Regions from separate parts of the Homo sapiens genome. Here regions 1 and 3 are each linked to region 2. The links are contacts of gene promoters, found by promoter capture Hi-C in blood cells and fetal thymus (Javierre and others, 2016). All regions are on one chromosome and are shown on one strand. Each heading gives the region's core, a stretch centred on a gene start or on the middle of the fragment in contact. The rest is flanking DNA. Distances are from core to core; before and after follow the strand shown.

Region 1 (4,815 bases), core at 1,028-3,527, 190 kb before region 2:
AAAATAGACCTGGAGGAAACCCAAGTCTATCAACAGCAGAGACCACAACCCATGTCAGTGCAAAGAAGCCAAGTGTTGCACTACCCTATTGGGATCCAGCTCACATTGAGCCAGTTTTGTTTTTTGAGCTGTTACGCAAGTGCCTTCTGTCGAAGAGAAGCTTTACTCAATTCTACAGGGCAGCCCCCTTCCTATTTTCAGTGGTAGAAAAGATGAGACCTGGGGATCCACACTTGAGGCTGTAGATTGGTGCTGGCAGCCCTGCTTCTGCAACTGAGTCTCAGCCCTAGTCTTGACCTTGTTCTTTTTCTCTAACAAGCCTTTTCTCTTTCTAACCCTCCCTCCCAATATACCCACTTCATACTATCCATTGTTCATACACTTCTCTACCTTTATTCCTCTTCTCATATTCCTCCCTTCGCCAGAGTGTCTTTTTCCACCATCTTCACCTGAGTTCAATTCATCCTTCAAGGTCCCGGCTCAAATTCCACCTTCACCAAAGAGCTTCCCAGTTTTCTCCAGTAAAAAATAGTTTCCCTCCCTTGTGTTCCCAAGGGGGAAGGGAGGAAAAAGGATAAACAAGCATTAAGCACTTGATCCATTTTAGGCACTTCGCATGTGTCACTTGTATGAGGTAGGTATTGCCATTTTACTTAATGATAAAAGAGTTGGAGAGGGTAAGCTGTCTGTAAAAGGTCAAGGTCATATAACTAGTAAGTGGTGGTGCTGGGGATTTGAACTCAGTCTAACTTCAGAATATAACTTTACAGCCTACCACATTTGGTCTCCTATTACATTTACTTTTGTCAGTTCACTCCTCTAGCATGCTGTTTTGCAAATAGCATTTTAGTTAAATGTTTGTGACATTGACTTCTCTTGCTTCCTTACTCTGTTTCTCCAGGATTTGTGGCAGGAGTCTCCCTGCCTTAATCATAAAGGAATTGAGTAAATTGGGGGTGGAGCTGGGCAGGTGGAGAGCCTGAAAGAGTGTGCCTCCTGACGTGTGGGCTCCCTGGAGATAAGTAAAGCCTGCCAGCCTGACAAGTCCATTGCCAGGGATATTGTAGACATTTCCAACGCTCTAGAAAGGATATTGCTCTATATTCACAGACTCTTAGAATGTTAGAGCTGGAAGGGGATTAAGAAATCACCTAGCTTACTGGTTTTCAAACATGCAGTTGTGGGCCCCGTTAAAAATGGGTCTTTTGAGAAGTATATACTTGGAAAAAAAAGTTGGAGAAGCAGCTGTAGTAATGCTGCCCCTCTCATCCCCACACACAAACATCTGAAAAATCCCTAGAACTGAGGAGCCGAGTTTGGAAAGTCAATAGTGTAACCTCCCTCATTTTACAGATGCAGAGCCTTAACATCAAGTCTAGTCATGACCAAGGCTGCACAGCCCGTTAGTTTGGGAGCCAATACCTAATGTCTTCTGAGGTTCTAATTCCAATGCTTTCTGTGGAAGAATCATACATACGCAGTATTTCTTAAGTGGCTGTTTGCGGCAAAGCACTGAAATAGTTGCTATGAGGACGACAAATATGAACGACCCCAGTTTTACCCACTCATGAGCTCACAGTTGAGGCCAGTGAAGAACCTAGAGACAAAACACGCACTTAACTATAACTTATAGTTCCCTAACTACGATTGCTGAGACAAGGATCGTAGTTATGGCCAGTTATGCGGGGAGGGTGGGCTGAACAATGAGACTACCGGATTGAGAGAGGCCCGGGTCTCGCGCGGAGAGAAGGGGCAGGAGGAGGCAGAGGGTCGAACTTAGGTGAGAAATATGGCTGGCGGGCCCCACACCAGGGTCCGGCACAGTCCAGCTGGAAAAGGGGTCTCTCACAGAGTGGGTGGCCGAGTTAGGCCGCTCTCCACGGGTATTCATGGCTCGGTCCACCCCCATTCCTGTCCTGGCTGCGTAATCCGAAGGACGCTGGGAGGAAGGGGCGGGACTTGTGGCGGAAGTTCCTAGGCCAGCCTGTCACGTGGGAGGGAGGCTCGGCGCTCAGGTGAGTGGCGGGTGATCTGCGGTCTCTGGCTTAAAGCGTCGCAAGCCATGAGTGCCCACAAGGTGTGTGGTCATCCTATATCCGGGCAGTGACGGGCCCTATTTTCGGTTTGGAGCTGGACTCAGGAAGGTTACAAACTGGTTCCAACCAAGTCTGAATCTGGAGACGGACCAAGCTATCTTTTGAGGCACCCAAGCTCTGGGTAGAAGCCAGAGCAAAGCTGTCCTCATGAGTGTCTCCGTCGGGAACGGAGGCTTCCAGGTGGTCTGGCTTCAGGAATGAGGTTGGGGTGGCTGGTGGCTGCTACCAGGAGTCCATAGCTTCCCACAGCCTTTCTCTCTTCCCCAATTGTCTAAGGCGACTCCTGCGACAGGAAGCTGTCTGGGAAGCATCCTTCATGTGGCCTCTGCCCCTTTAAGTCACATTGGAAGTGGGAAGGGGAAGGGAGTGGGCACAAGGGAATGTCAGGCGGCTTCTTAGTCGTGGAGAGGGACGGTGGGGGTGACCCCCTCTCCTCTTGGCTTGACAGGAAGCATGGCACTCTGGCGGGCATACCAGCGGGCCCTGGCCGCTCACCCGTGGAAAGTACAGGTCCTGACAGCTGGTGAGTGTCCCTCTAGGACTTGAGTGGGACCAGGGCAGACTGATTTGGAAGCCAGAGGCTTGCCCCACTGCACCACCCTCACTTCCTGTTTCTATTCGGCTCTCTTGAAGGGTTGGCTGTCTTTCATCCTACACTGTCCCCAGTCTGTTTTGGAGGGTGGTCCCCAAGGCTGTTTTTAAGGGGTATGCGTAGTTGGCCAAGCTGTGCAGTAGGGTTTTAGGATTTCAAAGTCCTCAAAAAGCTGAACAGTCAGCCCTGAAGGATAAAGGCATTGCCCCAGGAGGCCTCAACTTGGAAAACATTTTACCGTATGCAAAGCACTTTCATATACGTTATGGCATAGGGCCCCCACAAAGGTGTGTGAGCTAGGAGGGTTACTTGAGTCCACATTAGATCACACCTAATAAGTGCTGAATCAAGACTCTTACCCCAGTTTTTCTTGGTATTTTTTATTGTGAAACATACAAAAGAATGATTAAGATGTGTATGTACAGTTTAAATGGCATTAAAACTGAACACTCCTGTGTCAGTAATCAGCTTTGAGACCTCTTGAGTGCCTCTCCGTAATTCACCCAAAATTTCCTGAGTTTTGTTTATATCGTTCATTTGCTTTTGTTATCATTTACTGCCTAAATATGTATCTCCAAGGTTAGTATATTGGTATCTGATCACTCCATCCTGATCCATTTGGAGTGATCAGATACCAGTCACTCCAAATGCAGTGATTGAGTACTAACCTCACAGAGGTAATGCAGTGACCTACCTGCATTTGTTACCATCTTCATTTTGCAAGTTAGCTAATGTAAGAGGATGGCATGAAGATAAGTAAGTCTTAGAGGGGGAATGTCAGAAGGCCTTAGAACATTGGGGTGCAAAGAGTGATCACATTAAGATGAGGTCTTGCCCATGTTTAGAGAAGGGGAACAGGATTCTAGTGATGACTGGCCTTCTGAGAAGAGGACTATTGGAAGGGATTGGGGGCTACTGAAGGCCAGAGTGGAACAGGGATCCTGTGACCAGAACAGCCCTGCATCGGCACAGAAACTTAACTGCATGAATGGCCAGGAGATGGATTCTTTGGCCCTTCCCTGGGCCCCTCTCCAGTCTCCGGTGCCCAACCACCTCTTGTCCTGTCCTCAGCGTCCGTCAGCCTGTATGACTCACCTGGCTACGTGTGTGGTGACTCATGCTGGACAGTGTGGCTATGATGGGAACTGACACGCTGGGCCCTTTGCCCAGGCTCAGATTCCCTCAGGGCCCATAACTGCCAGATGGAAGATTCCCCCTTGTGGTCATCAAGAATAGGGAGGGAAAGAGTCCTTATATTTCCCTACCTGAGGCATCTGCAGCTGACAAGGGCAGGAGCTAGAGCTCCAAGGAGGCCTAGGTGCCGACATGTGGCTGGAGTTCTGGGCTCTTGGTGCTGGAGCCCTTCAGCTCCACAGCCTCAGTCTTCCTGAGGCTATGCTGACGTCCCAGCTCAGCCCTGAAGCAAAATGTAGCCTCCCAGCACTTTTCCCAGACTTTTTCAGACCATCCAGACTTTTCCTTTCCTGCTGTTCACTGTATTTGGATCAAACTACAAATAAAAGGTGGAAGTGGCTTTAGTTCACTGAGCCATTTTTGGACCCCAGCACAGTAGTTCCTAAGGTCCCATGGGATAGCTCATCACACTGGAAAACAGTACAGAGATTTCAGACTTAGAAGACCAGGATTTGAATCTTAAAACCATAGCACCTAGTAGGTGCATTAATCAGGACAAGTCAGTAAGCTTCTTTGAGCCTTAGTTTCCTCTTTTAAAACTTGAGTTTAGGGACTGGGCGCGGTGGCTCACACCTGTAATCCCAGCACTTTGGGACGCCGAGGTGGGCAGATCACGAGGTCAGGAGATCGAGACCAACCTGGCTAACACGGTGAAACCCCGTCTCTACTAAAAATACAAAATTAGCCGGGTATGGTGGCGCATGCCTGTAATCCCAGCTACTTGGGAGGCTGAGGCAGGAGAATCACTTGAACCCATGAGGCAGAGGTTGCGGTGAGCCAAGATTGTGCCATTGCACTCCAGCCTGGGCAACAAGAGCGAAACTCCATCTCAAAAAAAAAAATCAACAAAAAAAAAATCTTGAGTTTAGTTATATGACCTCACAGGGTCAGTATAGGAGTATCACTGTGAAAAGGTTTTGGACATTTTTTTTC
Region 2 (4,273 bases), core at 1,050-3,549:
GTCTGCTGTCTCCAGGCTGAAGAGGACCAAGGGCACCAAGGCCCCATTCAGCCCTCCGTGTATCTAATAAAGTCTGACCCTGTGAAACTTGTGTTTGCGTCCTGCTGAGTCCACAGAATAGGTGGCTGTAACTATAGGGGTGCCAGTCCCTAACAAGACCCTTGGTGGCGGGGAGGGGGTGGTTCATGCCTATAATCCCAACACACTGGAAGGCTGAGGTAGGAGGATCACTTGAAGCCACGAGTTTGAGACCAGCCTGGGCAACATAGCAAGACCCTGTCTCTCCAAAAACAAAAATATAAAAAAATTAGCTGAGTATGGTGGCGCGTGCCTGTACTACCAGCTACTCAAGAGGCTAAAGTGGGAGGATCACTTGAGTCCAGGAGTTCAAGGTTGCAATGAGCTATATCATGCCATTGCACTCCAGCCTGGGTGACAGAGACCCTATCTCAAAAAAAAAAAAAAAAAAAAGAGGGCATGGTGTGGTTGCTCATGCCTATAATCCCAGCACTTTGGGAGGCCAAGGTGGGCATATCATTTAAGGTCAGGAGTTACGAGACCAGCCTGGCCAACATGGTGAAACTCCATCTCTACTAAAAATACAAAAATTAGCTGGGTGTGGTGGCGGGTGCCTGTAGTTCCAGCTACTCAGGAGGCTGAGGCAGGAGAATCACTTCAACCTGGGAGGTGGAGGGTGCAGTGAGCTGAGATCAGGCCACTGCACTCCAGACTGGGCAACAGAGCGAGACTCCGTCTCAAAAAATAAAAAAGACCCTGGAGGGTGGTGTCAAAGGAAACGGAGAGGCCAGAAAGAGCAGGTGCCATGTATCCAAGGAGGACAAGGGACCCACAAGGCCTGGGGACTTGAGATATGCAGAGAGCTTGGCCAGGCCCTTCACACATCTAATTCAACTCTGTGGGACAGATATTGGCATCCCCAAAGATGAAGCCACTGCGCTATTCCTCTGGGTGCACCTTAGGTTAATGAGAATGCAGGAGAGGGCGTCTCTTTGCAGGGAAGGACATCCCTTGTGCTCGCTCTCAGGAGTGCACAAAGGTCCTCATCAGATCAGAAACCCGAGGGAGAATGGAGTGTCAGGCGCAGAAGATACCTGCCCGGGAGCCAAACTGCCCCCTCTGAGGCCAGCAAAGCAGCTGGCCACCCACCAAGCCACCAGCCCAGGAGTGTGAAGCCTTGAGAAAGGGAATGGCAGACACCACCCCTGCCAAAAGTGGGCGATAGGCGTTAAGGATGACAGACGTGTCCTCATACGAGGAAGCAATGGATTCAGCATTTGAAGTCAGGTTTATTTTTAAGTTCATGCTGCCTCCGTTAAGAAGCAAGAGACTCCGGTGGTTTCTGGTGTGTGCCCTCGGGCAAATCACTTCCTCTCTGAGGTAAGATGCAAAGGCCTGTGCTCCTAGGAGTTGGCATATCACTCCTCAGATGGGAACAGTCCTTATTTGAGGATTTTATGTGTGTGAGAGACAGGGTCTAGCTCTGTTGCCCAGGGGCTGGAGTGCAGTGGTGACATCACTGGTGGTCCAGCGCAGCCTCGACCTCCCAGTCTCAAGTGATCCTCCCGCCTGAGCCTCCTGGGCACCTGGGCCCACAGGTGCCACGATGTTTGGCTAATTTTTAAATATTTCGTAGGGACGGATCCCCATGTTGCCCAGGCTGTCTCGAAAGCCTGGGCTCAAGCCATCCTCCTCTCTCGGACTTTCCGAAAGTGTTGGGATTACAGGAGGATTACAGGCATGAACCACCGTGCCTGGCAGAGGATTTTTTTTTTTTTGAGACGGAGTTTCACTCTTGTTGCTTGTTGCCCAGGCTGAAGAGCAATGGCAATGGCGCGATCTCGGCTCACTGCAACCTCTACTTCCCAGGTTCAAGTGATTCTCCTGCCTCAGGCTCCCGAGTAGCTGGGATTACAGGCGCACGCCACCACGCCCTTTGTATTTTTGGTAGAGACGGGGTTTCTCCATGTTGGTCAGGCTGGTCTCGAACTCCTGATCCGCCCGCCTAGGACTCACAAAGTGCTGGGATTACAGGCGCGAGTCGGATTTCTTTATTAAAGGTTGACCTTCATCAACCTCCATTGGCTCCACCTCCTCCGCCCGCGCCCCGCGCCCCGCACAAAAATGGCGAAGTCGGTGCTGGGCGACTCTGCCTCCGCGCCAGGGGTGGAGAACCGAAGCCCCGCCCCGGGAAACGCGGCCCCGCGGCCGGCTAGTGCTGACGCGTGTCGGCGCTCCTGCGCCTGCGCGGAGGGAGCCGCGAGACAGGTGCGCATGCGCAGTGCGCGTCTGCGAGACCGACTTGGACGGAGCCGAGCTGAGGCTCGGCTTCCTGCTGATGGTCAGGGTTTTGGCAACTCCCCGGTGTGAGAGGGGTAGGGAGTGCTCCCGGCGGCGACGGGGCCGAGTTCACCAGCCGCCGGGGCAGTAGTCGAAGGCCCGGCGCGGCATGTCCTGGGTGCCGCGGTGCGGGCAGTGAACGCGCGCCGGGCGGGATGGGCCGGCGCCGGGCGCCAGAGCTGTACCGGGCTCCGTTCCCGTTGTACGCGCTTCAGGTCGACCCCAGCACTGGGCTGCTCATCGCTGCGGGCGGAGGAGGCGCCGCCAAGACAGGCATAAAGAATGGCGTGGTGAGAGCGCAGGGCCACTGGGGCTGGGTCTTGCTGCGGGCTGGCGGCGATTCCAGGGTGGCCGGGGGGTCGCGGGGCGGGCCACACTCCAGCTTCGGGCCCTGCCCACTTCTGTTGGGAAGACCCGCTTGCCTGACGCCCAGGGGCGAATTTCAGTCGAGAACTCAGCGGGCGGAGGAGAGGCTTTTAAGGTAAAGTGAAAACTGCACACAGCTGCAGAGTCGCCAGGAACGCTTCAGCTCCGCCTCAGAGCAGCTCCAGGGGTCTTATACTGGCCTTTTCCGGGAGGTCTTGCCTGCCCTCTAGCAGCGGCGAGAGTGGTGCATTTGGGTTTAGGCTAAGTTCCTTCCCTCTCCTGAGCTTCACCCTGTTCTGTAAAATAGAGGTAATAATCCCAGTCCTGCTCACTGTGTAGATTTGTGAGGCCCAAATGAGAGAAAAAAGACTCGAGAAACCCTTGTGAACTAGAACGTGCAGAAAGCAAAGGGGTAAGACATCAGACTCTTCCCTAAACGTGCTCTCTGGGCACCCCTGAACTTGCTCATCCGGGTTCCCCCTCCCACAGCACTTTCTGCAGCTAGAGCTGATTAATGGGCGCTTGAGTGCCTCCTTGCTGCACTCCCATGACACAGAGACACGGGCCACCATGAACTTGGCACTGGCTGGTGACATCCTTGCTGCAGGGCAGGATGCCCACTGTCAGCTCCTGCGCTTCCAGGCACATCAACAGCAGGGCAACAAGGCAGAGAAGGCCGGTGAGGAGCTCCCTCTCTACCCCCTTGGGGAAAGGGTTGAACGAGTAAGGTCACTCTTGGTGTCTCTAAAGAAGTGGGTCTGGAAGTAGGGTTTTGGTAGCAAGCTAGAAGTTGTATGGGCACCTGCCATGGAGAGAGGGGCCAGTACTCCTTACTGTAGAAGCCTGGAACCTGGCCAAGTGTTTGTGTTACAGGTTCCAAGGAGCAGGGGCCTCGACAAAGGAAGGGAGCAGCCCCAGCAGAGAAGAAATGTGGAGCGGAAACCCAGCACGAGGGGCTAGAACTCAGGGTAGAGAATTTGCAGGCGGTGCAGACAGACTTTAGCTCCGATCCACTGCAGAAAGTTGTGTGCTTCAACCACGATAATACCCTGCTTGCCACTGGAGGAACAGATGGCTACGTCCGTGTCTGGAAGGTGTGGGTTTGCAGGGTTAGGGAGGGTGAATGTCAGTAGCAACAGGATCAAAATTGTGAGAAGTTGAACGTGGCATCTGGGAAACTTGTGAATGAAGCTTGCATTGAGGGGCCATTAGAAGGGGTGGCGTGGGCATCAGTCACAGTGTACTTGCTGGACACCTGAGTTAACCATGGTGGTTGTTTGGCTACAGGTGCCCAGCCTGGAGAAGGTTCTGGAGTTCAAAGCCCACGAAGGGGAGATTGAAGACCTGGCTTTAGGGCCTGATGGCAAGGTGAGGGGCTGGGGGTGGGAGGAGGATGGAGAAAGGAGAGAGGAGGTGCTTATGCTGCTTGCCCAGTAAGTGGATCCCCTAACTGTCCATCCTTGGAATCTTTATTCCTAACTAGTTGGTAACCGTGGGCCGGGACCTTAAGGCCTCTGTGTGGCAGAAGGATCAGCTGGTGACACAGCTG
Region 3 (4,732 bases), core at 1,634-4,133, 250 kb before region 2:
AGGACTTGTTTTAATCCAAAGAGCCTCTATCTTTTTTTATTTTTATTTTTTAAAATTTTTAGGCTGGGCACGCGGTAGGTCACACCTGTAATCCCGGCACAGTGGATCACGAGGTCAGGAGTTCGAGACCAGCCTGACCAATATGGTGAAACCCCATCTCTACTAAAAATACAAAAATTAGCTGGGCGTAGTGGTGGGCGCCTGTGGTCCCAGCTGCTCGGAAGGCTGAGGCAGGAGAATCGCTTGAACCTGGGAGGTGGAGGTTGCAGTGAGCCAAGACCATGCCACTGCACTCCAGCCTGGGCAACAGAGCAAGACTCTTGTCTTAAAAAACAAAAAAGTGTACCCAGTTGAGCTGATTCTTTATCTTTTTTTCACTGGAGAACTAAGTATACAGGTGAGAAAAGACGAGATATTTATACCCGAGAGAATTGATGGTGAAATCCATTTTTTTGGATCAGAACTTCCCCAAACAGTGTCCTTCAAATAGGGTTCAGGGGTGCTAAGATATTTATCCCCTCAACCCTTGGGGTTCACTCCAGTATGGCATATAAATATTGTATCACTTTCTATGTGTGGGGAGCAGTGCTCCAGGTGACCTTCCTTCCTTTCCTTCTAGGGGAGGAAGTTGCCTTGTACTGTGCCAAATATCTTCCTGATATCATCAAAGATCAGAAGGCCTACAAGGAAGGCAAGCTACAGAAGGTCTGTCTGCTTACACCGCCCATTCCTCACTTGTGTAGGCTTTTCCCTTGTTCTCTAGCCCTTGGGCTTTTCCTTTCTTTTTGTCCTCTAGCTGCTGCTGCTTATTTACTCTTGAAGAATTCTGTTCCTAAAACGAGCTTATTGGCCGCCTTTTAGACTTGCCTTATTATTCCTAGGCCTCTGAGCTGTTTTTATCTGTGAGTGTCTCTTAGTGTGGTGGCTCACACTCTTAATTTGTATTCCATCCTTGTGCTCAGGATTGTATATAGGGAGTTCATTTTGTACTAGTCTTAGACTATTTTGCTTATATTCAGGCTTTAGAAGATGCCTTCTTGGCTATTGACGCCAAATTGACCACTGAAGAAGTCATTAAAGAGCTGGCACAGATTGCAGGGCGACCCACTGAGGATGAAGATGAAAAAGAAAAAGTAGCTGATGAAGATGATGGTGAGTGTGGCATCCCTTGTTTGAGGGGAAATCAGCATTTTAAGAAATATTCTTTAATATTACTTATCAATTCTAAGATAGGATGGCTTTCTAGGGACCTGGGGAGTCCTTATGTTAAAGAAACCTATGATGTTCTCCTGCATTGTATGTGGTTATGAAAAGGAGGGAGAGAATTATCTTCGTTGAGTGGCATCTGAGCTGTAAGCATTGTATATACATTATCTTTTGTCATTGTGATGGGGTCTTCCTGGTTCCTGCTAGTATTTATGTGCTTTTTTTTCCCCTCAAGACTGGAGCAGTTATTAGCCCCAATAGCCAATCATTAAGCCTAAATCCTAATTCACAGTAGCATTGTGGGCTTCCTGGATCCTCAGCCAGAATAGGGTTTTTACAACTTAACAATAAAAAATGAGACGTCAGAGGGGAAGTATAGTAACTAGTGTTGTTTTGATTAAGAAGGGGATGAAACACAAAAACCAAAAGAAGTCTGTGGAGGAGGAGGAGCTAGGGCATGTTCTTCTGAGACTTGAGCGAGAGGAACCTTGGGAGTGGGAGGTTGTGGGGAAGTTAGAGGCTGCAAGGGCTGTTGAGGTAGTGAGAGGGACGGATCCCATGAGGAGTCTGGCATGGGGGCTCTGATTTAGCCTCTTCCCTGCAGTGGACAATGAGGAGGCTGCACTGCTGCATGAAGAGGCTACCATGACTATTGAAGAGCTGCTGACACGCTACGGGCAGAACTGTCACAAGGGCCCTCCCCACAGCAAATCTGGAGGTGGGACAGGCGAGGAACCAGGGTCCCAGGGCCTCAATGGGGAGGCAGGACCTGAGGACTCAACTAGGGAAACTCCTTCACAAGAAAATGGCCCCACAGCCAAGGCCTACACAGGCTTTTCCTCCAACTCGGAACGTGGGACTGAGGCAGGCCAAGTTGGTGAGCCTGGCATTCCCACTGGTGAGGCTGGGCCTTCCTGCTCTTCAGCCTCTGACAAGCTGCCTCGAGTTGCTAAGTCCAAGTTCTTTGAGGACAGTGAGGATGAGTCAGATGAGGCGGAGGAAGAAGAGGAAGACAGTGAGGTAAGGGCCTGTGAGGGCAGGCAGATGCTGAAGTTGCAGAGAGGTCCTGTTTGGTTGCCGTCTGTAGTTTTCAACTCTCTTTCCTTCTCCTATTTTGACATCATCCCCCAAGACCCACTGTATTCTAAGCTTTAGTCTTGAATTCATTGAGCTCCATCATCACAGGTACCATTTGCCTTTTTACCTCTTCCTTTGTTGGTACTATAACAAGCAGATCTAGTTCTGGCTTTTCAGAGTCTGTCTCCTAGAGAGAGAACAAGGAGATAGTTGTTACCTTGGCTAGTTGACTGTTTTCTTCTCTGGAAAATTTATTTTCTGGCCACAGTGCCTGAAAGATATTTTTGGCTGGCAGCCCTTGCCTTGTCCTGGGCTTTTTGCTAGTGACTGCTAAGCCCAGTTCAGGATGTCAGTTGTACTCATGCTAGCCCTTTCCATCCCCCCAATTTTCATGACCATATACTTGTATCTTTCAGTGTTTTGAGGACCTGTGTTCAGTCAGGACCTCTTGATTCTGAGTATGAGCTGTGGGGAGGGAGGGGATCATCCCAGTCTCAGCAGTCTGGGATCCTCCCCCTGGCAGGAATGCAGCGAGGAAGAGGATGGCTACAGCAGTGAGGAGGCAGAGAATGAGGAAGATGAGGATGACACCGAGGAGGCTGAAGAGGACGATGAAGAAGAAGAAGAAGAGATGATGGTGCCAGGGATGGAAGGCAAAGAGGAGGTGTGTGGGGAAGGGGAGCAATGAGTCTTGAAAAGCCACAAGGCAGGTGTGAATCCCCTAATTTTGATTTTGAGACAGGGGATCCCCCTGATACTTTAGGATGGAAGTAATAGTCATGGGGATTTATTCTGCAAGGGGAATGAGATGGTAAGCCTTTGGGGTTGAATTATCTAAAAACAAGGGAGAGGGAGTGTGCTGCTGTCTCTAGAAAGATGAAATGTGTGCTTCTCCTGTTTGTTAAAGCTCTTTTGGGGGTCCCAGTGAAAGCAAGCATAGGTGAACGATCAGGAGCACATCAGTGAGGAACGCATGTTCAGAAGCCCCCATGATGCTCCTTTTCTTCCTCTTAAGCCTGGCTCTGACAGTGGTACAACAGCGGTGGTGGCCCTGATACGAGGGAAGCAGTTGATTGTAGCCAACGCAGGAGACTCTCGCTGTGTGGTATCTGAGGCTGGCAAAGCTTTAGACATGTCCTATGATCACAAACCAGAGGATGAAGTAGAACTAGCACGCATCAAGAATGCTGGTGGCAAGGTCACCATGGATGGGCGAGTCAACGGGGGCCTCAACCTCTCCAGAGCCATTGGTAAGGGCCAAGAAACTGGGAAAGACTTCTAGGGTCTTTCTCTCTGTCCCAGACTACCTAGTAGCAAACTTTAATCTTCCTAGTGCTTGTGCCTTTCAAAGCACTTTAATATCTACTACCTCTGTTCTTATATTTCTGTGAAATAACTAAGATGGGTAGAGGTATCATTATACATAGGTATCATTATACCCATCTTATGTAACATTTGAATGATGAAAAAGACCTGTGAGTGCCGGGCGTGGTGGCTCACGCCTGTAATCCCAGCACTTTGGGAGGCTGAGGCTGGTGGATCGCCTGAGGTCAGGAGTTCGAGGCCAGCCTGGCCAACATGGTGAAACCCCATCTCTACTAAAAAAAAAAAAAAATACAAAAATTAGCTGGGCATGGTAGTGCAAGCCTGTAATCCCAGCTACTCAGGAGGCTGAGGCAGGAGAACCGCTTGAATCCGGGAGGCGGAGGTTGTAGTGAGCCGAGATCGTGCCATTACACTCCAGCCTGGGCTACAAGAGTGAAACTCCGTCTCAAAAAAAAAAAAACAAAAAAGACTTAAAATAAAAAGACCAGTGAGTGACTTTCTTAAGGTTCAGCAGTCTGGTGGCAGGGTTGAAACTAGAAAAACTAGGACTTAGGACTCAGTTCCCCATTCCACTAGATTATGGAACTTTGTAAAGAAGGGAAATGAATGGCAAGGTTTGACCTGCCACAAACACAAGTCTGTGGGAAGTATCCAAACTGCTCATCAACCATTCCTTTACTCCAGGGGACCACTTCTATAAGAGAAACAAGAACCTGCCACCTGAGGAACAGATGATTTCAGCCCTTCCTGACATCAAGGTGCTGACTCTCACTGACGACCATGAATTCATGGTCATTGCCTGTGATGGCATCTGGTGAGCACTGGCAGAATGCCCTAAATTCCCCTTTCTGCAGCATGTCTTCTCTTATAGGACTCAGGGCACCTCTAGGATTAGAGCCTAGGCAGACCTAGGCCTCTTGGTGGGTGAAGAGCACCCAGACTAAGGCAGAGCTGAGAATTTCTGTAGTTATTTACACTGGCCTGGGCCACCACCTCTGTCCATACTCCTCTACGCTGCCTTAGTGAGACTGGAAGATTCTGACTGTTGTTCTTGACCCCAGGAATGTGATGAGCAGCCAGGAAGTTGTAGATTTCATTCAATCAAAGATCAGCCAGCGTGATG

What was found. Contacts are between HindIII fragments. The CHiCAGO score rates a contact against its expected background, and 5 or more counts as called.
Region 1: a fragment that was not itself captured here is called in contact with the fragment with the promoter of PREB in region 2 in 3 of 17 cell types (total B cells, neutrophils and naive B cells); the score reaches 5.4 in total B cells.
Region 3: a contact is called between a fragment that was not itself captured here and the fragment with the promoter of PREB in region 2, in 1 of 17 cell types (neutrophils). The highest score is 5.1, in neutrophils.

The regions. Positions count from the first base shown.
Region 1 is chr2:27,320,252-27,325,066 of GRCh38, reverse strand. MPV17 (mitochondrial inner membrane protein MPV17) reads left to right here and starts at 1,970. Exons shown (of 8, transcript NM_002437.5): 1 at 1,970-2,015; 2 at 2,545-2,619. The coding sequence starts at 2,550. RefSeq lists enhancers at 1,161-2,133, 2,256-2,315, 2,366-2,415, 2,426-2,515, 2,526-2,575 and 3 more. The HindIII fragment of the contact is 4,230 bases long and covers 163-4,392 here.
Region 2 is chr2:27,132,662-27,136,934 of GRCh38, reverse strand. PREB (prolactin regulatory element binding) reads left to right here and starts at 2,299. Exons shown (of 9, transcript NM_013388.6): 1 at 2,299-2,648; 2 at 3,214-3,403; 3 at 3,598-3,818; 4 at 4,012-4,092; 5 at 4,208-4,273. The coding sequence starts at 2,514. PRR30 (proline rich 30) reads left to right here. Exons shown (of 3, transcript NM_178553.4): 3 at 1-87. RefSeq lists enhancers at 2,361-2,410, 1,886-2,542 and a silencer at 2,481-2,580. The HindIII fragment of the contact is 5,539 bases long and covers 1-3,917 here.
Region 3 is chr2:27,382,167-27,386,898 of GRCh38, reverse strand. PPM1G (protein phosphatase, Mg2+/Mn2+ dependent 1G) reads left to right here. Exons shown (of 10, transcript NM_177983.3): 3 at 620-705; 4 at 1,020-1,152; 5 at 1,811-2,226; 6 at 2,807-2,947; 7 at 3,299-3,533; 8 at 4,294-4,423; 9 at 4,671-4,732. Among named protein-coding and RNA genes, the nearest start is that of ZNF513, 3.8 kb to the right of the region's middle. The HindIII fragment of the contact is 1,052 bases long and covers 2,358-3,409 here.